7 separate regions of the Homo sapiens genome follow, and regions 1, 3, 4, 5, 6 and 7 are each linked to region 2. Evidence: promoter capture Hi-C in 16 types of primary human blood cells and fetal thymus (Javierre and others, 2016). All regions are on one chromosome and are shown on one strand. Each heading gives the region's core, a stretch centred on a gene start or on the middle of the fragment in contact. The rest is flanking DNA. Distances are from core to core; before and after follow the strand shown. Region 1 has its middle 16 kb from the start of PARP2. Region 2 holds the start of RNASE1 (ribonuclease A family member 1, pancreatic). Region 3 has its middle 11 kb from the start of PNP. Region 4 has its middle 20 kb from the start of RNASE10. Region 5 holds the start of PIP4P1 (phosphatidylinositol-4,5-bisphosphate 4-phosphatase 1). Region 6 overlaps CCNB1IP1 (cyclin B1 interacting protein 1). Region 7 holds the start of TEP1 (telomerase associated protein 1).

Region 1 (3,466 bases), core at 944-3,443, 440 kb before region 2:
TAGGCTTTGTGTCCCCATCCAAATCTCATCTTGAACTGTAATCCCCAGAATCCCCACATTTTAAGGGAGAGACCAGGTGGAGGTAACTGAATCATGGGGGCAGTTTCCCCCATGCTGTTCTTGTGATAGTGAGTGAGTTCTCACGAGATCTGATGGTTTTATAAGGGGCTCTTCCTACTTCGCTTGGCACTTCTCCTTCCTGCCACCCTGTGAAGAAGGGCTTCCCCTTCACCTTCCTCTATGATTGTAAATTTCCTGAGGCCTCCTCAGCCATGGTGAACTGTGAGTCAAACCTCTTTCCTTTATAAATTACCCAGTCTCGGGCAGTTCCTTATAGCAGTATGAAAACAGACTAATACAGATCCAAAGACTTCCTGATTGTATTTAAACACACAACACAGATAAACAACACACTTCCTTAAGTAACAGAGAAGTTTGTTTAAATTTTTCCTGTAACTTTTTAGAAACCAGGTTTCCAATATCTATCAAAATTTGAAATGTTCATGCCCTGTTGACCTAAAACTTACAGATATATATGTTTGCATAGATGTCACTGAGGCATTGGTGTACACAAAAAGATCATAGATAAGGAACTAGTCAAATATATCTACTCACTGAAGTAACCTGCTATTAAAACTGAAGTAGACTGCATACTTTTCCAAAGAATAGAAGAGAGGAAAATACTTTGCAACTAATTCTACAAAGCAGAATGAAACCAAAACCAGATGAAGATATCACAAGAAAATAAAATTATAGACCAATATCCCTTAACAATATAATTGCAAAAATCAACAAAATACTACCAAGCCTAATCCAGCAACATTATAAATGGACTATATACAATGATCAAGTGAGATTTATCACAGTAATGCAAGATTGAAAACCAAGGTAGGGCAAAAATCACATGATCATCTCAGATGCAGAAAAAGCATTTGGCAAAATGTAACATTTTTTCATAATGAAATAAAATCCAACAAAGTAGGAATGAAAGGGAGCTTCCTCCACCCTATGAAGAACATCTATGAAAAACTCACAGCTAACATTACAATGGTGAAAGATTGAAAGCTTATCCTCTAAGATCAGGAATAAGACCAAGATGTTTGCACTCACCACTTCCATTCAATATTGTACTGGAGGTTCTAACCATGGTACTTAAGCAAGAAAAAAAAGGCATCAAGATTAAAAAGGAGATAAAACTAAATTTGCAAATTACGTGATCTATAGAGAAGGCCCAAAAGAATCCATATTTAGAGCTAAAAAGTTCAGCAAGATTGTAGGATACAAGATGAATTGTATTTCTTTTTTTTTCTTTTTCTTTTTTTTTTTGAGACGGAGTGTCTTGCTCTGTTGCCCAGACTGGAGTGCAGTGGCGCAATCTTGGTTCACTGCAACCTCCACCTCCCGGGCTCAAGTGATTCTCCTGCCTCAGCCTCCCGAGGAGCTGGGGCTACAGGTGCCCACCACCACGCCTGCCTAATTTTTGTATTCTTAGTAAAGACAGGGTTTCACCATATTAGCCAGGCTGGTCTCGAACTCCTTACCTTGTGATCCTCCCACCTCAGCCTCCCAAAGTGCTGGGATTACAGGCATGAGCCACTACACCCAGCCTGTATTTCTTTTTATTTTATTTATTTTTCTGGAGATGGCATTTTACTCTTGTTGCCCAGGCTGGAGTGCAATGGTGAGATCTCAGCTCACTGCAACCTCTGCCTCCGGGTTCAAGTGATTCTCCTGCTTCAGCCTCCCGCCTCGGCTTCCCAACTAGCTGGGATTACAGGCATGTGCCACCATGCCTGGCTAATTTTTGTATTATTAGTAGAGACAGGGTTTCACCATGTTGGGCCCAGGCTGGTCTTGAACTCCTGACCTTAGGTGATCCACCCACCTTGGCCTCCCAAAGTGCTGGCATTACAGGTGTGAGCCACCACGCCTGGCCTATGAATTGTATTTCTATTTCTACACACTAGTAAAGAATAATCTGAAAAATTAAGAAAACAATTCCATTTATAATAGCGTCAGAAAGAATAAAACACTAGGAATAGATTTAACCAAAGAAGCATGAAACTTGTACACTGATAACTACAAAACTATTGAAAAACATTCAAGGCCACCTTTATTTATTTATTTATTTATTTATCTGAGACAGAGTCTTGTTCTGTTGCCCAGGCTGGAGTGCAGTGGCACAATCTTCCCTTAATGCAACCTCTGCCTCCCGGGTTCAAGTGATTTTCCGGCCTCAGCCTCCCAAGTAGCTGGGATTACAGGTGTGCACCGCCACACCCAGCTAATTTTTGTATTTTTAGTAGAGATGGGGTTTCACCATGTTGGCAGGCTGGTCTTGAACTCCTGACCTCAAGGCCCACCTCAGTCTCCCAAAGTGCTGGGATTACACACTTGAGCCACCATACCCAGCTAAGACCTATTTATTTAGGTCTTGAATTTCTGTCAACAGTTCTGTAGTTTTCAATCTACAAGTGTTCGTAGATTGGAAAATTTATTATTAAAATGGTAATACTTCCCAGAGCAACCTATAGATTCCATACAATTCCTATTAAAATTCCATTATCCTTTTTTTTTGCAGAAATGGCCAAGAAAAATTCATAAGGAATTACAAAGATCATGAATAACAAAAACAATCTTGAAAAAGCTACAGTACTCAAGACAATGTGATAATGACATAGGATAGACATAGAAATCAATGGGATAGAATTGAGAGTCTGGATATAAACCCAAGCAAATATGGTCAATTGGTTTTCAACAAGGGTGCCAAGACCATTCAATGGGGGAAAAATAGTCTTTTCAACAAATGGTGCTGGGACGACTTGGATATCCACATGCAAAGTAATAAATTAGGAACACTATCTCACACTACGTAAAAATTAAAATGGATCAAAGGCCTAAATGTAAGCTAAAACTAAAAAGCTCTTAGAGCATAAGGAGAAATCTCTGTGACCTTGGATTAAGCAACAGTTTCTTAAATATGACACCAATGCACAAGCAAGCAAAAGAAATAAGTTGGTCTTCGTCAAAATTTAAAACTCTTGGCCGGGTGTGGTGGCTCACGCCTGTAATTCCAGCACTTTGGGAGCCAGAGGCAGGCAGATCATCTGAGGTCAGGAGTTTGAGACCAGCCTGGCCAACATGGTGAAACCCCATCTCTAGCAAAAATATGAAAAATTAGCCAGGCGTGGTGGCATTTGCCTGTAATTCCAGCTACTCAGGAGGCTAAGGCCTGAGACTAACAAATCTCGGCAAAGATATGGACAAATAAAAATCCTCACACATTGCTAGTGCGAATATAAAGTGGTGCAGCTGCTTTGGAAAAGCTTGGCAGTTCCTCAAATAGTTGAACATAAGAGTTATCAGGACCTAGCAATTCCACTACTAGGTGTATAACCAAGAGAATAAAAAAGCAATGTTCACACAAAAATTTGTACATGCATATTGATAGCAACAATATTTATAA
Region 2 (3,408 bases), core at 462-2,961:
GTAGCTCCCTTTTGTCTAAAACAGCCCACACTTAACAGTTTTATGTTTGGCATCAGGGAATCTACAAGGAAAGGAATTTTCTCAAGCCACTAAAATCCAAGTCAGAAGGGAAGGCATTTAATTACTCCATTCACCGTTCTCCAAAGTGAATCAGATTTACAGTTCTTACCCCTTGCTGGAAGGCAATGCCAGAAACAGTACCTAGACAGAACCGCTTCAGAAATCAGGTGTTTGCAACTGCGTTTTATTGAAAGAAAGAGTGGAGGGGTTAACATGGGGCCCACCTCACAACCCACTCTTCACCCCCAAAATCACGCAGGGATGGGACTCAGGAAAGGGAAGCATGTGTGTGTTGAATAGGAGCCCTAACTGTAGTTACTTCTTTCACAGCAGGGAAGGAAGAGGGAAGAGGCAGCTGTGGAGAGGATGAGGTTGAGGGAGGTGGGGTATCTCGCTGCTCTGACCTTAGGTAGAGTCCTCCACAGAAGCATCAAAGTGGACTGGCACATATGGGCTCCCTTCACAGGCCACAATGATGTGTCTCTCCTTCGGGCTGGTCCGGTATGCACAGTTGGGGTACCTGGAGCCGTTTGTCAGGCGGCAGTCTGTGATGTGCATGCTGGAGTTGCTCTTGTAGCAGTTGCCCTGCCCGTTCTTGCAGGTGACCTTTTCCTGGAAACAGACATTCTGGACATCTACCAGGGGCTCGTGCACAAAGGTGTTCACTGGTTTGCACCGCCCCTGTGTCATATTCCGGCGCCTCATCATTTGGTTACAGTAGGTGGAGCTGCTGCTGGGGGAACTGTCTGAGTCCATATGCTGCCGCTGGAATTTCTTGGCCCGGGATTCCTTGCCCAGGGAAGGCTGGACCCAGCCCAGCACCAGCAGTATCAGGACAAGCAGAAGGAGCCGGACAAGAGACTTCTCCAGAGCCATGGTGGCCTCACTTTCCCAGAAAAGCCTAATTGAGAAAAGGAGAGAGAAGGAAAAGAGCCCTCTTAGAAAAAGAACTCCAGCTCCCACCTATGGCTTGCCTGGTTTACACTTTCTGTTTCAGGTCAGCCAGAAAGACGTCCATCCTACTTCCTGAGGTTTTTCGTGTAATGAGACACTCACGTGTACCCTTTTCCACGAGCGTTTTATTCCCACTCTCCAAAGCGAGGTCTTCCTCCCCTCTAGGTGGTGACCTACAAAGTGACCTAAAATCCTGTCAGTTCCTATCTTTGAATACTGGAGTTTCTTTGATCCAAAATACATTTGTACCCAGTGCTCAAATGGCTCATCGAAACATCAGTTTGAATAAATCATGAACCAAATTGTATCCCCGACATCCAGGGCCATGGGTGACAGAGCCTTGTTGTCTTGGAGCATAAGGGAACTCAGGCCAGTGCCTGACACTGGCATCATAAAAGATTCCATTGTATTCCAGAGAGAAACGCTGGCCTCCCCCAATTTGGAGGCTCCTTCTTCTCCAGTCCCATGGATGCTCTGCAGCCTGCACGTTCCACCCTGACCCCTCTGCCCCCAGCTGATGTTTGCCTGGGCCACATTTTTTCAGCGCTAGCATCACCCAATCTTTCTCAGTGCTGTGGACTGGCCCTAGCTCCCTCTTCTGCAACCCTGAAGCAGAAGCGGCACCTGAGAACACCTCTTGGGCTGCTTACCTGGATCTGCAGCTTGGTGTCTGAGAGAGATGGAAGGCCAGTTTCTGCAATCACTCAGCTCCCGGGGTGTGGACCTTATACAGATTACAAAGGGGTTTGGCTTCCAAGAGGAAAAGGGTGGGAGGAGCATCTGGAGCTCAGTTCAAATAAAATCAAGGACGTGAGGAAGGAGTGGTGAATCACCCAGGCCGCCGTCTTTCTAGGGCTGCTGAAGAAAGAGCAAATCTTTGCCTACGTTAGTCTTTCTTCCTATGTGAACCACATCTGTCTGCTGATGCACAAGGAGCAGCAGAGAAAGCCACTACAGCACTGGTGCCCAAACCTGGCACACTAGGAACAAAGTCCTTGTTACTTCTTCGTGGGCGTTTTCACCAAGTAGACTTGGAGGTTAACAAAGGACGCAAAGGAGAGGTTCTAATGGGAGATAGGGAATTCTGGCCAAAGCTATTCCAGGGCTCCTAGGGAGCAAAACCCAAGTCTCTTTCTAGGAGGGCATTCTCCCAACGCTACCTCTCCCGGGGATGGGAGGCGGGGTCGGGGGGAATGGAGGCTGTCCTGCTGCCCCCAGCTGGAAGGCTTCCCAGATCTGGAGAAGAAAGGGGGAGTAACTGAATAGGGAGGAGGAGGAGGCCTCTAGGGTGCGCTCACCCAGTTCTGGCCACTTCCCACCCACCCTCCACCCCTGCTCTGGGGGCATCGAGAGGATGGGGCTGTTCTTATCTACAGTAACCACTGACCCTGTAGGTCGGAATTGAGTAGAGGAACTAAAGATAAACTTAAATCCCAAATCTCAAATTCTTTTTGGGGAAAAAATACAAAGAATATCATATTTATTAGCAGCAGAATGCCCTCCTAGAAAGAGACCTGTTTTTTTGCTGAGTAACAATTTGGATACCTCTAAGAATTATCAAAATATCCCTTCGTGCTGTGTATTCAGATTGTTTCAGCCTTTCTGTGTAAAAAGTGGCCATAGTGAAATTATCTGACCTACCTTGTGTGATTGTAGGTCGTAAGATCCTCATTCCAGAGAGGGTCCTGCCCCCCATACCCAGAAAAAAAGGACGAATGCTCAGAGAGGCCAAGAAGAATCTAGACAGGGAGGCCTTGCTGGGTTTCCCCACTCAGTCTATTTTCATTAGATCGCCCTGTTGTCCAGTCATATTTCTACACAGCTGTTCATACTTTGTTGATATCCAAGTGTAAGAATGCCCACTTTCCCCTGTTATCTTTGGGTCTTCTGAAGGCTCCCGTGTCGTGTAAAACTACGATCAAATCAATTTGTATGCGTTTTTTCCTATCAATCTGTCTTTTGTCAGTTGATTTTCAGCAAACCTTTGGAGGGTGAAAGGGGAATTTTTCCTTGGCCCCTACAGTTTCCTTACTCCCCCAGCCCCCACCTGTATTTTATTTTTCTGAGTCTTTAATAATACTTTTATTCTCTTGAATAGTCAAGTTAGAATGTGTTCATTCATTCATTAGACTGTGGGATACAGACATAAATAAGGCACAGGACTCACCTGAAGGGCGCCTGGTGGGATGGTTTGGTTAGTCAGGTGGACCCCACTAAGGCACTGGGCGTGGCTGCACAAAAGTGGCCTCCACCCAGCAAGATGATTTCAGAACCACAGTTCAGATGTGAACAGATCTTCTGTAACTATAATAAGGCTCTTCAACAGCCCCTGGCCCTAGGAATCCTGAAACTACAGGAAGCCATTTTGTCTATTTATGCATAGCAATCTAGACA
Region 3 (3,006 bases), core at 184-2,683, 320 kb before region 2:
GAGATCATTTCATCACTTCAAAGGGAAACGTTATCTGCTCCCCCATAGCCCCAAACAGCCATTTATCTACCTTCTGTGCCTATAGATTTAACTATGTTGGACTTTCACACAAATGGAATTGGACTTTTGTGGCTGGCTTCTTTCACTTAGCATAATGTTTTCAAGATGCATCCAAGTTGTAGCATGTATCAGTACTTAATTCTTTTTTGAGGCCAAATAATATTCTATTGCATGGATACACCACATTTTGTTGATCGAGTGTCTGATTTTAAAAAGCCAACCAGTCCAGCCAAAACCGAACGTATCAGTTTAGGATTGTAGGATACGAGCACAAAGTGAAGGGAAGTAGGTGTGGGAGGGCTTTCCAGAGAAAAGACATTCTTGAAAAAAACTGGCGATGATACCATTCATTTCTGGAGGGGCCTGCAGAATGCCTGCAAAATAGATTGATTTTACTGAGTCTCATGGTAGGTGTCCAAACACATTGAAGTCAGGCTTGCTTTCTTGACCCTATCATGACCATCTTTATTAGCATCAATAAATATTCATTAATCATGTATTATGTAGAGAACATTGTCCTAAAAACCAAAATGTAAGTTGGTATAAGATGAAGTGTCTACAGTCTAGATGTGAGACAAGATGTATGCATAAAAAGAAATAACTAGGCTGAGTTATTTGAGCCCTTTATAGCTGCTAAAGACTTTTACTAATCTCTTCATATGTTATATTGTCATTGTTTAGAATCAGCTTTTTCGACTGAACTGAGGAAGAGGGCCTAATTTTTTACAAAAGGAGTACAGTAATGTGTGAAAAGTAGCGTATGCTAAGTGTCAATGATGGTATGTGCTACAGGAATTGAGAGAAGAGGACCATCACCGGAGCTGGGGAGTAGGAAAGGATTGATGAGACATTATTTAGGCCTTACAGAAATGCCAGGCACAGTGGCTCATGCCTATAATCACACATACTAGGTGGGAGATTCACTTGAACGCAGGAGTTTGAAGCTGCAGTGGGCTTTATGATTGCGGAACTGCACTCTAGCCTAAGTGAGAGAGTAAGACTCCATCTTTGAAAAAAAAAAAAGATAGGTGAAGAGGACATGGCAGAAGCCATTACATACAGATGAATCCAGGAATGTTTAATCATTGAACAAACTGAAATGCTTAAAGTGAAGAAATAAATGGGAAGATGGGCAGCAAGCTGGAGAGGAGCTCTGATTCCAGGCTCAAGAGTAGGACCTTAGGGCCAGGTGCGGTGGCTCACGCCTATATCCCAGCACTTTGGGAGGCCAAGGTGGGCGGATCACTTGAGCCCAGGAGTTCAAGACCAAGTTCGAGACCAGCCTGGGCAATATGGGGAAACCTCGTCTCTACAAAAATTACAAAAATTATCTGAGCATGATGGTGGTTGCCTGTGGTCCCAGCTACTTGGGAGGCTGAGGTGGGAGGATTGCTTGAGTCGGGGAGGCTGAGCCTTCAGTGAGCCATGATGGAGCCACTGCGCTCCAGCCTGAGCAACAGAGTGAGACCCTGTCTCTCAAAAGCAAAACAAAATGAAAGAGTAAGACCTTATTTTCTAGGCAAGATGGCCAGCCATTGACAGTTTTTAAACGAAGGACTGGTAGATAAAAATTGCACTGTAGTATTTTGGTGGCTAGAAGCCTGACTAAAAGAGAGGCTTGTTTTGATAGTAGAATTACTTTCACCCAAAATTAACTGTACAGAATAGCACAATGGTTGGTGTTAAGTATTTAATTTTTAGTCAGGTTGGGGTCTTCTGTAGTGTTTTAAAGAATAAATTAGCCGGGCACAGTGGCTCATGCCTGTAATCCCGGCACTTTGGGAGGCCAAGACAGGAGGACTGCTTGAGTTCAGGAGTTTGAGACCAGCCTAGGCAACATAGTGAGACCTTGTTTCTACAAAAAATTTAAAAATTAGCTGGGCATGGTGGTGCACACCTGTAGTCCCAGCTATTCGGGAGGCTGAGGTGGGAGGCTGGCTCAAGCCTGGGAGATCGAGGCTGTAGTGACCCATGATCATACCACTGCACTCCAGCCTAGGTGACAGAGCAAGACTCTGTCACACACACACACACACACACACACACACAAAAGGAATAAGCTGTTATAAAATAGAATGTAGAGGCAAAAGTGCAAACAACTTAGAGATGAAAATATACACTTAAGTCAATAGTTTCCCCTTCTTTTTAATATAAAATTGTGAATAGGTATATAATCACATAGTTCAAAAATTAAGCAACATAAAATGTGTATAGTGAGAACTCTCACCCCTATCCTGTCCTCATATGCCCTTCCTTCCCCACCCACTGGTGACCACTGTTATTAGTTTCTTTTGCATTCTTCCAGGATCTATACAAATATAAACAAATACAAATTCTATTTTTCTTCTCTTATTATAAACAGCAGTTAGTATGTTATATATACTTTCTGTATCTTGCTATTTTATTTTAACATATCTTGGAGATCTTTTCACATCAATGAATTAGTGTGCCTTCTTGATGACTTACATCAATGCTGCCAAGGATATATGTCTGTCACCTCCAGTTTTTTAGAAGCAAAGGGAGAATATGGTCTTAATTTTTTTTGCCACTTCTCAGTTCGTTTGTTGATTACTAATAGGAATAGACACAAAGAGGTAATGCCACCTGCTGCTCCTTTAAAGCAAGAAGTTGGGAAGAAGAGAGCTATTCATTCTGTGCTGTGCCTTCTGCCTAATTCAATTTGGCTTAGATTTGTGTTGCCTTTTTTTTCTTGTAAATAGGCCCCTGATTTTCATAATAATGTTTTGTTTCTCAGGGATGCCTTCGAACAAACACTGGTTATCTGCTTGGTTTTTCTGTTACTGTAAATTTGGATTTTAATAAAAATAAAATTTTCCTGTCTTTAATCATTTTGTCTAATTTTTAGTTTTGGCTTAAATTAGATGTGATATTCTTTTGGATTAATCTGAATTTGCTCTGTTGTTTTCGGGTCAAAGAACCCCTACC
Region 4 (3,346 bases), core at 345-2,844, 280 kb before region 2:
AAACCTTTTTTATTTCTCTTATTTTTGAGAAAATCTGATCCTACTGAACTTTGCATGAAGATTTCAAATCTATATGCAAATACGCATAGGCATTATTGTTTTGCATATGGAAAAATGAGGGCTCAAGTCATAGAAATATATGATGGCAGATCAGTGAGGAAATCCTGGGCTATTTTCTAACATGATAGAATAGGGTTTCAGACCTCTTGAATTCAGCAAGGATGTAATTTACAAGTAACTACTCCCTTGAAAATCAGAGTGACCACACTTGTAGTGAAATTCATTCCTGTGGTGCTTGCTGGATTCCATTCTGGTGCTGGAAGCTGGACTGGAGACTGACCATGTTCCTTCAGGTATCCTCAGCAGTGTACAAGGGAAGCTCCTTTCTGAGGGAACCATGCTTGCATGTAGACCTTCACAGTAGTGCAACATAACTTCTCAGAGATCAACATGCCACCATTCAGTGAACTTGGGAATTTCAAGAGGAGGCTAAGTGTCAGCACAGCGTCTACTGAAGTGCAATGCCTGCTTCTTAGGGAAGGCAACAACTCACTAGAAGCAGGCCCTTCAGATCCACAGGTGGATGAAATGAGGATTATTACTCAGCCAAAAAGGACCGGTTGAGTGGCTGGAAGGTCCAATGGCTCATCATCCTCTTGTTTAATAGCAACATATGGGATTTCCTGTCCCTGGGGGTGTGGCAGAGCAGAGTACCCAAAGTACAAGTGGTGACCTGGCCACTGATGTGCAGTTTTCCATAGATCTCATTAAATCTGGCCACAAGGGCAGGCATATCCTTCACTTTTCCTTCACTTTTGCCAGCACTTCCTCTGAGAATGCATGTCTTTTCACAAATTTTAATAAATTTCCTTCTGCAGCATTTTTTTAGTGTCTCTATCAGGGTTTCCAACATATTTGACTGGATATGGATTATAATAGTTAAGTTAGTGCAGGCTATGCTTTCTGGATTCATGGTTTGAGAAAAAAATGGACATAGCTTTTGCCACTTGGTTCTGATTCAGAGCTAACGCCACAAAGAAACGGGATGCTCTCCTGGAGGGAACCTCTCCTTTGAGTGGGGCTTCTTCTGTTAATGCAGAACAGATTTTGAAAGACTCAGCGCTCTTCAGTTTGTTGCAAACTGCAAAACTAAGAACATAGGATATTTGGTGAATTTCACAGCTTGATTTTTCATCTCTATCAATACTTCCAAAGCACTTTTATATTTGCCTTTGATAAATAACATATCCATCAAAATATTGAATGATGTGGAATCTGAGAAGGAATCTCATAAATGCTGGTCTTTCATGAGCCCCTCAAGATCCAACCCATAACAGACTCATGAAAAGTGGTCCAAACCTATACTCCCCCAAAGTGATATTTCTGTTCCCTGCATGGTACCTGTAAATGACATTTGTAGCCAGCTCCACATGGTCCTGGGACCCACAAAAATAAAGTAAGGTTATCAACTCCCCCTTCAAGATGAGCTTGTCAGTTTCTCTTCCAAATTCCTAAAATAGGTTTCTTTAGGAAAGATTACATGCAACAGCCACCTTCTTGTGCTGAAATTCTTTTAATTTCACAATACTATCTGTAAGTAGGTATCTGTTAGCTCTGAAAGGACAGCAGCCACAGGCAAAGCTGGAGGCTCCCACCCCAGGATACACCGAAATCTGCAGCAACCTGCAGGAGAACTCGATTCGAGGGCCTAAGTGCAGCACATGTATTTTCTTTATGTAACATGTAAGTTCTCACATGTATTTTCTTTATGTAACTATATTGAAAACCATACGTTTATACCAATACCTCAATTCAAATCCAACCCCACAAGCTCATATTAGGTTTTCTCTTCCCATATTTATATCTTAATTTTCTTATTTATAACTTTTTGACTTATAAATTTCTTCTCCCATATTCTTTAATATAGTTGCTTATTGCATGCATCTTCATGTATGTAACCAATCTCACCTTGCTGCCGCCATTCCCCCTCCCATATGGATGCCCTTTGCCCACTCTGGCTCTGACACTCTGTGCCAGGGCTGCCCCTCTACATGGGTGTCCACCATTTGGGCCTGGATATCTCACACTAGGCAACCCCTCTGAGTGGACATCTCCTCCACTTGCTCAGGCTGTGATTCTGCAGGCTGTGTTCCCCTCTCAGCCCCCTCAGACATCCCTCACCAGGGACACCTTTTCATCTCTCTTGGGTTCTGAGTTCTTATTCCTGTGCCAGATGGCCCCTCCTCATCAATGTCTATGACCTTGTTCTGCCCCACCTGGTGGCTTTAGGACTAAATGGTTTAGAAAGGGAAGGTTAGGGAAAGAGGACTTATATCTTTTGAAAATTCTATTATATAATAGAATTTTCCATATTGTTGAGTAGTCATTAAAAAGTTTTACTCGATATATTTTATTCTATTAATGTAATGTGATTTATTTAAGTATTCCCTCTTTTGTCACATTAAGGTGATTTCCAATCGTAAGTAATTTGGGCTGGGCATGGTAGCTCATGCCTATAATCCAGCACTTTGGGAGGCTGAGGCAGGTGTATCATGAGGTCAGGAGTTCAAGACCAGCCTGGCCAACATGGTGACACCCTGTCTCTACTAAAAATACAAAAATTACCTGGGCATGGTGGTGGGCGCCTGTAATCCCAGCTACTTGGGAGCTGAGGCAGGAGAATTCCTTGAACCTGGGAGGCAGAGGTTGCAGTGAGCTGAGATCGTGCCACTGCACTCCAGCTTGGGTGACAGAGGAAGACTCCATCTCAAATAAATAAATAAATAATTTGCAGGCTGTTTTCCCTCAAACGAATTCCCTCTAATGGTGTCCTCTACTAGGAAAGGTGTCCTGTACTCACTAATCCATCAAAGGTCTATTGACTTTACAACATATTAAGGTTTAGCTCAACTCCACCTCCCTCCCCTCTTCCTAATATAGCTATATTTCAGTTCTCTTGTTTACCTTTCTAACTTAATACTATGCTAATCATTTTAGTATCTTTTTCAGATAGGCACTGGGTATTCTGAGTTCCTATTTTGTAAAATAAGAATATTAGTATCCTTCTTTTCATTCACTCTCTTTTCGTCTGTGTCCCAGCTTCAGTCAACTGTACTTTACTTTTACATTGCCTTGATTGTTAATATTAATATTTAATTCTGTAACCAAAATTAAGACTTAAGTTCATTGACTGTAAAAGCTGAAAATTGATACAAAATATTTATATTCTTTCTTTCTTTATTTATTTTTGAGACAGGGTTTCACTCTGTCATCCAGGCTGGAGTACAGTAGTGAGATCTCAGCTCACTGCAACCTCTACTTCCCCAGCTCAAGTGATCCTCTCACC
Region 5 (3,135 bases), core at 597-3,096, 340 kb before region 2:
ATAGGGGCACTCCCACTGTCCGGGCTAGTTAAGGGTGAATAGGGGGGTGGGTCCTCCCCAGGCAACACGGCTGGATGCCCCTCGGGAAACGGGGGAAATGCTGGAGAGGAAGCAAATAGAAGGGCTGGGATCACTTACACCCCCACTGATGCTCCACGGTGGTAGGGAAGTCCTTCTGATCTTCAACCCTCTGACCAAGCTCGGAGGGCTTCTCATAATTGGCACTTCTATCAGGTTGCTCAGAACCCCCTTCCGTCCCTAGGCTGTGGTCGCGATTACGGAGGGAAGGAAGCCTCGCCCAGTCACAGGTGCAGCAGTCCCGCACCTGGCGACTGGGACCCGCCTCCGCCCTCGGTCCCGCCCCCTCCCCGGCTTTCAGAGTACCCCGGGGAGCACCTCGGACCCGCCCCGGCTTACCCTGGGGCGGGGCATGTTTACCGGCTCCGTACGGTGGTGCGGAGGGGGTCAGGCCTCCCCCGGGCCCAGCCCCACTCCCGCCGGGCCCCACTAAACCGTTGCCGCCCGCGCCACCGTCGATGGGCTCAGACAGCAGCGGGGAACGCTCTCCATCTGCCGCCATGGCCGCCACCGCCGCCTCCCGCTCAGGTCGGCGATCCGGCTCCCTTCGCCTCTGCCGTCGCCGCAGCCACCGCCACCGCCGCCACCGCCACCGCCGCTACCGGGTCCCCAGGGCGCCTGCGCGCCGCGCGCCCAGCTCACTCCGCAACCAGTGGCCTGCCCCGCCCCGTTCCGTCTAGCAGCACGTGATAGGCTATCCCCGCCCGGGTCATGCTATTATTCGCGTAGATAAACCAATTCCTGGTCCTGTGAAGGCAGCTCTCCTTTTCCATTGGGGAGCGACGCACAAACGTCAACTGTCACATGACCTGCCAGATGCTGCTGGGCTTGCAAAACCTGCACGTGACTAGAGGTTCTGCAAGCTATTGGGAGCGACGCCCATCGCGCTACCTCCAGACCAGGAGGTAGGGCTAGGCTGCGTCTGCTCAACTGGTCACGTGTTTCTGGAAGCTGCACGGTCCCTGTTGCTCTGCTCCTCATTGGTTCAAAGACACCACTAAAACACTTTTCTCCGGCTTTGCGTTGTAGCTGGTTTCCTATTGGCTGGTGACTTTACTTCTTTCGTCCTGTGATCCTAGCGGCGCAACTGCATTGGCCCGAACTTAGCGCCAGAACATGGGGGGCGTGGCTTATGCATTTTAAAGGAGGCTGGGCGGGTGCAATAAAGGAGTGCGGAAGCTTGGGATCTTCTGAGCGGGGAGAAAATGGACGGTGGGGAACAGTAGACAAAGTTAGCTGTTCTACTCAAAGAAGTACCTTTAAAAAGTCAGAGTAATGAGGTACCAGAAGGAAATGGATTAAAAAGTTAAGATTATCACTCCAGCCTTTGTCGCTAGAGTCACTTTCAGGACAGGACACAAGACTGGGTTTTCCTGGAAGCTGTCCTTACAGAGCCCCGTCTTTCCCCATTGCTGATCAAATTGTTAAATTATCTTTTCATTAGTGTCTCCACTACTAGAAGATTTCATCGTTTTACTAAAAAAAAAAAAAAAAAAATTCAATAGAGATGGGGTCTTGCCTATGCTGGACTCAAACTCCTGAGTTTGATCTCCTGCCTAAGCCTTCCCAGTAGCTGGGACTACAGGGACAAGCCACCGTGCCTTTACTCAGTTTTATGACCACCAACCTTTAACATACGCACAAGTTTGTAGATTGGATTAATCAAATACAAGGTTATTTTCGTCACCTTATTTGACAGATGGGACAGTCTTTAGGCCTGTCTCAACTTTGCTTCCAGCAAAGGGGCAGTGCCTCCTCCCCTACCTGAAGTCTCGTGTGGTCTTTATGGGCGCCTGAACCACACCTGGATTTTTTCCCAAGTCATAGCCCAAACTGGGACTGCTTTAAATATGGGAAGCAACAAGGAATTGATAAAAACAATAAACCCCGAGGAGGTCCATTATCAGTTTGGCTAGCAGACTCTCCACTAAGAAAGGAAGTGCATCAAAGAAAGTACAGCCAGCCCCAAATATGTAATAACAAAGGAACTGCAGATGTCCCAGCACTTGGCTGCTACAGGGGCTGGAGACTTCACCTAGGTCCTGATTTTTTTAGACAGGGTTTTCTCAGGCCAACTTCTACTTGGAAGCTAGTAACCTTCGACCAGTTAGATAAGAGCCCCTAACAGACACTTAAAGAACTAAGGAAGCTCCAGATACAAAATAGGGAAGAGGTTGTAGCTCCATAGAGGGAGGCCAGTCTGCTGCTTTTTCTGCTGTTTGTGGCACACAGATGCTCAAGCATTGTCTGGGGTTGGAGTAGGATCCATTATTTGCGCCCTAGTTACACATATATTCCAAAAACTGTCCTAAAAATATTTTTTAAATATCTACACTTTGTGAAAGACACTCCTTAAAAAAGCTTACACTCTGGGTAGGGAGACAGAATAGTGTAAACATTGACAGTATAACATATCAGGTCAGGAGTGGTGGCTCATGCCTGTAATCCCGGTGTTTTGGGAGGCTGAGGTGGAGGATTGCTTGAGCCCAGGAGTTCAAGGTTACAATGAGCCATGATCTAAACCTGGGCAACAGAGCAAGATCGTGTCTCAAAAAAAAAAAAAAAAAAAAGAAAATCAGCACTAGTATTTTATTACATGGAAAAATATCAATACTAGAAATTCATGATACAGCACATGCTTCATAATAAAAGAATTAAACAATGTAATTCAAGTTCAAGAAAAGAAGAGATCACTTCTAGCTAGAGCAGCCAGAGAAAACTTCTAAAACATAAAGAAAAATGAGTATTGTGCATGGATAACTAGGATCTGAGCTCTGTGTTGTTGAGTAGATCAATAGGCAGAAAAATGCAAAAAGTAATCATAATATTTGGAACTTGCTCACAGTTAATAAAGCATTTTTTTTTTTGAGACAGAGTCTCACTCTGTCGCCAGGCTGGAGTGCAGTGGTGTGATCTCTGCCCACCTCCCGGGATCAAGCGATTCTCCTGCCTCAGCCTCCCGAGTAGTTGGGATTACAAGTGTGTGCCACCACACCCAGCTAATTTTTGTATTTTTAGTAGAGATGGGGTTTCACCATGTTGGCCAGGATGGTCTCA
Region 6 (3,166 bases), core at 208-2,707, 490 kb before region 2:
AATAAGTTATGTTACTAAATGCATAGAAAAAAAGTCTGGAAGAATACTCTCAAACCACTAACTTTATACCACCAAAAGAACTGAGTATTTGTCTTAACAAGTGACATGTTTTCCAAAGGTTTTTAAGAAATATAATCCCATTTTTCAAGTAATCCAGAGCATGAAGAATAGACTCTAAGACAACCACAAATTATCGTCTCCTGGTACATACACCCTTGTGTAACTCCCTATCCCCTTGCACGTGGGCAGGACCTGTGACTAGAATACTACAGAAAATGTGACAGGTTGTCACTTCATAAGTATATTACCTAAGACTATAAGGTCTGTCTTACTAGGAGACACACTCCCTTGCTGGCTTTGAGGAAGCAAGCAGTCATGTCAGGAAGGCCCAAGAGACAAGTAACTAAGAACAGCCTCTGGCCAATAGCCAGCAAAAAATTGAGGACCCAATGAATCTAGACAGATCTTATACTTTTCACAAAAATAAACTCAAAATGGTTCACAGACTTAAACATAAAATGCAAAACTATGAAACTCCCAGAAGATAACATAGGGTAAAATCCAGGTGGATCTTGGATTTGGCAGTGACTTTTAAAATACACCAAAGGTATAATCCGTGAAAGAGAAAATTGATAAGCAGGACTTCATTAAACTTAAAAATCTCTGCTCTGTGAAAGACCCTGTAAGAGAATAAAAAGACAAGCCACAGATCAGGAGAGTATATTTGCAAAAGATAGCTCTGATAAAGGATCAAAGAATACTTCAAACTCAACAGTAAGGATAAAAAGAACACTTAAAACTCAACAATAAGAAAACAATTTAAAAATAGACCAAGAACTCGGCCGGGCGCGGTGGCTCATGCCTGTAATCCCAGCACTTTGGGAGGCAGAGGTGGGCGGATCATGAGGTCAGGAGATCGAGACCATCCTGGCTAACACGGTGAAACCCCGCCTCTACTAAAAATACAAAAAATTAGCCGGGCGTGGTGGCGGGCGCCTGTAGTCCCAGCTACTCGGGAGGCTGAGGCAGGAGAATGGCGTGAACCCGGGAGGCAGAGCTTGCAGTGAGCTGAGATCGCGCCACTGCACTCCAGCCTGGACAACAAAGCGAGACTCCGTCTCAAAAAAAAAAAAAAAAAAAGACCAAGAACTTCATATACACCTCACCAAAAAAAAAAAAAAAAAAAAAAAAAAAAGGCAAAAAAGCATATGAAAAGATGCTCCACATCATATGTCATCAGAGACATGCAAATTAAAATGAGACACCACTATACACCTATTAAAATGGCCAAGACCCAGAACATGGACAATACCAACTTCTGGCAAAGATGTGGAGCAACAGGAATTCTCATTCATTGCTGCTGGCAATATAAAATGGTATAGCCACTTTGGAAGACAATTTGGCAGTTGCTTACAAAAATAAACATACTCTCACCACATAAGCCAGCAAAAACACTATTTGGTATTTAACCAAAGGAGTTGAAAAATAGAGGAGCATGTAAGAGAAACAACTTACCCAGAAAAATATAATAAAAAGTTACTTGACAGATGACAAACATCCTTAAGAAGTATAAGTGTATATGTAAGATATAACAATACATTCAAGGACATGCTTAAAGTCATCCACAGGGAGGTCTTTCAAAGGAAATACTAAAAGTAGAAATCATAAAGGGAAAAAGTTAAGGATGCGTATTTGATAAGAATGCTTATCATAGCATTTTAATAACTTGGAAATAAATTATGATACAATATAACCATTAAAATATGATTATAGAATAGTTAACTAAAAAATATTTAACAAGATATTCATACCAAGTGAAGCACAGGCTACTCAGGAGGCTGAGGCGGGAGAATGGCTTGAACCCAGGAGTTAGAGACTAGCCTGGGCAACACAAGAAAACCCCGTCTCAAAAGGAAGAAAAATTCATACCAGATATAATATACTGTCAACTCTTAACAATAAAAGTGTGTGTGTTATCTTACTTTTATACAGAAGAGAGAGAGAGTGTGTGAGTGTGTGTGTGTGTATACCCAAAATATAAACAATGGTTATCTCTGAGTGATGGAATTATGAGTGCTTTAATTTTCTTCCTTTTGATTTTCAACAATAAACAGTATTGCTTTTGAAAACAATTTAATAAAAAGAGTTTCTCATATACTCATAAAAAATTAATAATAATACAATGAAGGAAAGACACTAGAAGTTCCCACAAATGCCATAAATCACATGCTCAAGAGAAACTAGACTAAGCACTAACCTGATATGTCCAGAAGGCCAGCGCTCGGGAGCTAATGTCCAACACGATCTCTGGTCGCAGTCCTGCCAATACCATAGCTTTATATTCCTCTGATGGACTGAGTTCTGTGCGGACAATATCTAGCTTTCCAGAAAGGGTACTGTTGCAGGCAGGACAGATAGCTGGTGAGCGACTAAACTCACCACTGCCATGCTGATCACAGAAGATGTGAGAGCAGGCAGTGACCCATGCATAGCCAGAGAGTTTGATGCGACACTTTCGATAATTACAAAGCAGCATGTCTTCACACAAAGACATAATAGGATAGTGAGGTCTCCAGAAGCTGAAGAGAGGCCTAAGAAGGGGTAAATAAAAAGGCCAAGTAAGTTAAATTGCAATGAAAATAAAAGTAAAAAAGAAATATAACATGCACGTTTTTATCATAAAATACTGCACATTTTATTATATTCCTTGTATTTATTATAATTGATATATTGATTTCAGTTACTCAATAATATTAATTGTGCTCGTTTGTCCGGTTTTCTAAAAACGCTTTAAGGACAAAGGTAAAGACAAAGGTGGTTACAGATCTTGCTAACGTCAAAAATAATATATACGTGGGCCAGGCTCAGTGGCTCAAGCGTACAATCCCAGCACTTTGGGAAGCCAAGGCAGGCGGGGTCCCTTCAGGTCAGGAGTTCCAGACCAGCCTGGCCAACATGGTGAAACCCAGTCTCTATTAAAAATACAAAAATTAGCCAGGCGTGGTGATTCAAGCCTCTAATCCCAGCTACTCGGGAGGCTGAGGCAGGAGAATCACTTGAATCCGGGAGGCAGAGGTTGCAGTGAAGTGAGATCGCATCACTGCACTCCAGCCTGGGGGACAGAGCAAGAATCTCTCTCATAACATGTATATATATAGGCTGGGCG
Region 7 (3,384 bases), core at 623-3,122, 390 kb before region 2:
GCGGGATTCAGAGGCTTTTGAGAATCTGGTAAAAGCTATGGAGCTTTTTCACAGAAAAAAAAAAAGTATATACTGTTTTGTGCTCAATTTTCAGAGTGTCTATGAAGCCCATTTATGGACCTCCCAGGATCTCCATAAACTGAAAATTAGAAACCTCTGCCTAACAGAATGCTTGAATTATACCATCAGGAACCTATTTTCTGGCTGGGTGTGGTGGCTCACACCTGTAATCCTAGCATTTTGGGAGGCTGAGGTGGGAGAATCACTTGAGGTCAGGAGTTCAAGACCAGCCTGGGCAACATAGTGAGACCTCTATTTAAAAAAAAAAAGGAATGTATTTTCTTACTTATTTGGACAAAGGCTAATCTCTCATTCATATGTAAATATTTTGGGAATAATATTGTTAAGTCAACCACCTAAACTTAGTGTGAAAAAGCTTAGGGACAAAAGTACAGAACACTTCCAAGAAGACCTGAATGACTAACAATCCAGGGCCAAAAAGGACAACAATATCTCACTGGACGTCAGTGTGACAAACACGTAAAAAATGATGGCTTCTGTGCCCAATACACTTTGCTCATGTCGTTGCCCTATATAAGCCCCCAAGGAAAGGAGTGGGGAAACTCAGAATTGACTCAGATTTTTTTTAAAAGAGATCTCAAGCCAAAAATAAACAGAAAAATAAGGACAGTTTATTTGAGCAACATAGTGAGACTGTCCTATCCTTAAAAGGACAGTCTCACTATTTTGCTCATTTTATTGTTTTGCACCCTGGAGTTTTTGAAAGGAGATTCGGCTGAACCACAAATGGAAAGTTAAAGTTCCGTCCCCACTTCCATCTCTAGTTCCCTTCTCTGGAAGTAAACATTGCTCACAGTTTTATACTAACAGTTTCACAGTTTCTATGCATATGCAAATACATGCCTTCACCATCACCACTGCTTTTGCTTTTGCTTTACACAAACAGGATCATAAGTTAGATGCTATTCTGCACTTAGTATATCTCAGAGACCTTGCCCTGTTAACACATTAATACCCACCTCACTCTTTCCTTTTTTTTTTTTTTTTTTTTTTGAGGCGGAGTCTGGCTCTGTTGTTCAGCTCACTGCAATCTCTGCCTGCCGAGTTCAAGCGATTCTCCTGCCTTAGCCTTCCGAGTAACTGGGATTACAGGCGCCCACCACCATGCCCGGCTAATTTTTTTGTATTTTCAGTAGAGAGGGTTTTCACCATGTTGGTCAGGCTGGTCTCAAACTCCTGACCTCAGGTGATCCCCAACCTCCGCCTCCCAAAGTGCTGGGATTACAGGCGTGAACCACCGCGCCCGGCCTCCACCTCACTCTTCAAGTGGCTGTATGGTAGTCTAGCACATTTAAGCACAGTCTGGGTTTCTATTATCACAAACGGTTCTCATACTACCATTTGTTGGTGACAGCCACTGTCCCCTTTCGATGGGCACACAGGGCAAGGAAGTAAGAGGGGATGATTCTTACGTGGTCTCTCTTCCTGTCCCTCCCTCTCCTTCAGCCTTCTCCTCCTCCTTTCTCACCTCCCCTTTCACGCAGTATACACTCCCTCCCCTTCCCGGAGCCGCCGGGAGGAGCAGGGTGGATGCACCCCTAGCTGAGTCTCGGGTGGTTCCTAACCGGCCCCGCCAGGCACTTCCCACCCAGCTCTCAGCCTCAGAGCCCAGCGCCCTAGACCCAGGGCCAGGGCAAGTTCTGCCTGCGCTCGGACCCTACCTTAGACTGGGGCTGGAAACCCTGGGTGCCTGACCTGGGGCGTCCGATTCCCGCAGCAGGAAGCAGAAACTTCGCTCTGGATTCTGCCGGTGGGAAGGGTGGCAGCCGGGGGAGGAGCCGGATGCGGATCTGAGAAGAGACGGTGCGGGCGGAGACTCTCGGGCCCGGGCGGGGCGCAGCAGCTGCTGGAAGGGCAGCGAGCCGAGGGCCGGGCAAGACGACATGCCAGGGCTGCGACGCGAATGCCCAGGACCCCTGCCGCCTTTTCTGGGGCCCGAGTTTAGTTTGTTATTGTTTCTATTTTTTTTCCCTTTCTGGTCCTATTTTCTCCTGTCCCTAGGGCTTCCCCCTCTACCAAATTCGTCTCCTCTGGCTAATTTTCGTCTTTTTTTCTCCCATTAACTCTTCAAACACCGTTTCCTGGAAAAGATTTTAGCATGCTCGCTGCCTAGCTGTACACCTCTCCTTCCTAATATCAAAGACGGTCAGACTCAATTCATCCTAAAGTTCCTTTGAGGAACTCCTTAAAAGGAGACGGAAAGCGGAAAGCAACCGCCTGTAACCAAGTGTAGACATCAGTCAATCAAAGTTCGCTGAACTGAGAGCAAGTGCCTCCCCTCCTGTTGATCAGAAGAGAGATCCGTGGATCACACAGAATCTATCTGGAGCCATCCTGAATGATTAATGCTGAACCCTTTCCAGGAAGATGGAACCAGGCTTAGGAAAGAGACAAGTGACCCTTAGGTTAATAATCCTAGCTTCATAAAGAGAGGACCAAACATAGTAGCAGGAGAAATATGCTTTCTGCCTTTATATAAAGCAGATTAGCTGTCTTCTGGAAAATATCATTGCTTTCCTTAGAGAGGTACCCTTGAGTCTCAGGTAACAGCTGAGCTTCCGCTCAGAATTGAGGGCATTCTGTCCTCTATTAACTGAGCCAGTACCCCTTTCCTTCCTTAGAAACCTCTATTGCCACCAGTCCCAACACTCCCTGCAATGGTCTTTATGTTTGTGTCTCCCCAAAATTTATATATTGAAACCCTAATCCCAATGCGATGGTATTTAGGGTGGGATCTCTGGGAGGTCATTAGGTCATGGAGTTTAGAATACTCATAAATGGGATTGGTGGCCTCATAAGGAGAGACGGAAGAGCTAGCTAGCTCTTTTTCCACGATATGAGGATACAAGAAAACAGCCATCTGCAATCCCAAGGAAGACCCTCATCTTCAGAGGCAGACCATGCTGGCAATCTGATCTTGGACTTCCATTCTCTAGAACTGTGAGAAATAATATTTGTTGTTTAAGCCACCCGGTCTACGGTAATTTGTTATAGCAACCTGAACTAAAACATTTCCTTTTTATAACAAATATTTTAAAGCTCTTTTTATTTTTCTGAAACATAATTCGTAAAGAATGTAACTTACCCCCACGCACAATTTTAAACCAAAATTTAAAGACAAAAAGTAGAGACAGGGTTTTGCTATGTTGCCCAGGCTCTCTACCTCCAGGGCTCAAATAGTCCTCCTACCTTGGCCTCCCAAAGTGCTTGGATTACAGGCATAAGCCACCATGCCTGGCCAAAAAATTAGTAAAATCTCTTAAAGAGATATAAAGGAGTCTACGGCCATACCACCCCGAACGC

Evidence for each region. The method cuts DNA at HindIII sites, captures the fragments that hold promoters and counts their contacts. A CHiCAGO score of 5 or more calls a contact.
Region 1: a fragment that was not itself captured here is called in contact with the fragment with the promoter of RNASE1 in region 2 in 1 of 17 cell types (naive B cells); the score reaches 5.4 in naive B cells.
Region 3: a fragment that was not itself captured here is called in contact with the fragment with the promoter of RNASE1 in region 2 in 1 of 17 cell types (erythroblasts); the score reaches 5.4 in erythroblasts.
Region 4: a fragment that was not itself captured here is called in contact with the fragment with the promoter of RNASE1 in region 2 in 1 of 17 cell types (monocytes); the score reaches 6.1 in monocytes.
Region 5: a fragment that was not itself captured here is called in contact with the fragment with the promoter of RNASE1 in region 2 in 3 of 17 cell types (erythroblasts, M0 macrophages and M2 macrophages); the score reaches 8.2 in erythroblasts.
Region 6: a contact is called between a fragment that was not itself captured here and the fragment with the promoter of RNASE1 in region 2, in 1 of 17 cell types (neutrophils). The highest score is 5.2, in neutrophils.
Region 7: the fragment with the promoter of TEP1 here is called in contact with the fragment with the promoter of RNASE1 in region 2 in 1 of 17 cell types (M2 macrophages); the score reaches 5.9 in M2 macrophages.

The regions. Positions count from the first base shown.
Region 1 is chr14:20,358,394-20,361,859 of GRCh38, forward strand. No RefSeq gene overlaps it. Among named protein-coding and RNA genes, the nearest start is that of PARP2, 16 kb to the left of the region's middle. The HindIII fragment of the contact is 2,261 bases long and covers 1,064-3,324 here.
Region 2 is chr14:20,801,133-20,804,540 of GRCh38, forward strand. RNASE1 (ribonuclease A family member 1, pancreatic) reads right to left here and starts at 1,712. Exons shown (of 2, transcript NM_002933.5): 1 at 1,665-1,712; 2 at 96-961. The coding sequence starts at 936. The coding sequence ends at 466. The region is part of intron 3 of LOC105370397 (a long non-coding RNA gene); the gene reads left to right. The HindIII fragment of the contact is 7,079 bases long and covers 1-3,408 here.
Region 3 is chr14:20,479,046-20,482,051 of GRCh38, forward strand. No RefSeq gene overlaps it. Among named protein-coding and RNA genes, the nearest start is that of PNP, 11 kb to the left of the region's middle. The HindIII fragment of the contact is 3,257 bases long and covers 1-3,006 here.
Region 4 is chr14:20,523,688-20,527,033 of GRCh38, forward strand. It overlaps the pseudogene PTCD2P1. Among named protein-coding and RNA genes, the nearest start is that of RNASE10, 20 kb to the left of the region's middle. The HindIII fragment of the contact is 9,274 bases long and covers 1-3,346 here.
Region 5 is chr14:20,460,746-20,463,880 of GRCh38, forward strand. PIP4P1 (phosphatidylinositol-4,5-bisphosphate 4-phosphatase 1) reads right to left here and starts at 689. Exons shown (of 7, transcript NM_144568.4): 1 at 439-689; 2 at 1-100. The coding sequence starts at 580. RefSeq lists enhancers at 9-975, 904-973, 976-1,941, 1,274-1,353 and silencers at 144-313, 374-783. The HindIII fragment of the contact is 1,182 bases long and covers 1,256-2,437 here.
Region 6 is chr14:20,313,970-20,317,135 of GRCh38, forward strand. It overlaps CCNB1IP1 (cyclin B1 interacting protein 1), which reads right to left. Exons shown (of 7, transcript NM_021178.5): 5 at 2,258-2,591. The coding sequence starts at 2,554. Among named protein-coding and RNA genes, the nearest start is that of SNORA79B, 7.8 kb to the right of the region's middle. The HindIII fragment of the contact is 4,318 bases long and covers 1-3,166 here.
Region 7 is chr14:20,411,629-20,415,012 of GRCh38, forward strand. TEP1 (telomerase associated protein 1) reads right to left here and starts at 1,873. Exons shown (of 55, transcript NM_007110.5): 1 at 1,777-1,873. It also overlaps the pseudogene RNA5SP382. RefSeq lists enhancers at 711-1,627, 737-906, 1,457-1,526, 2,027-2,076. The HindIII fragment of the contact is 9,686 bases long and covers 435-3,384 here.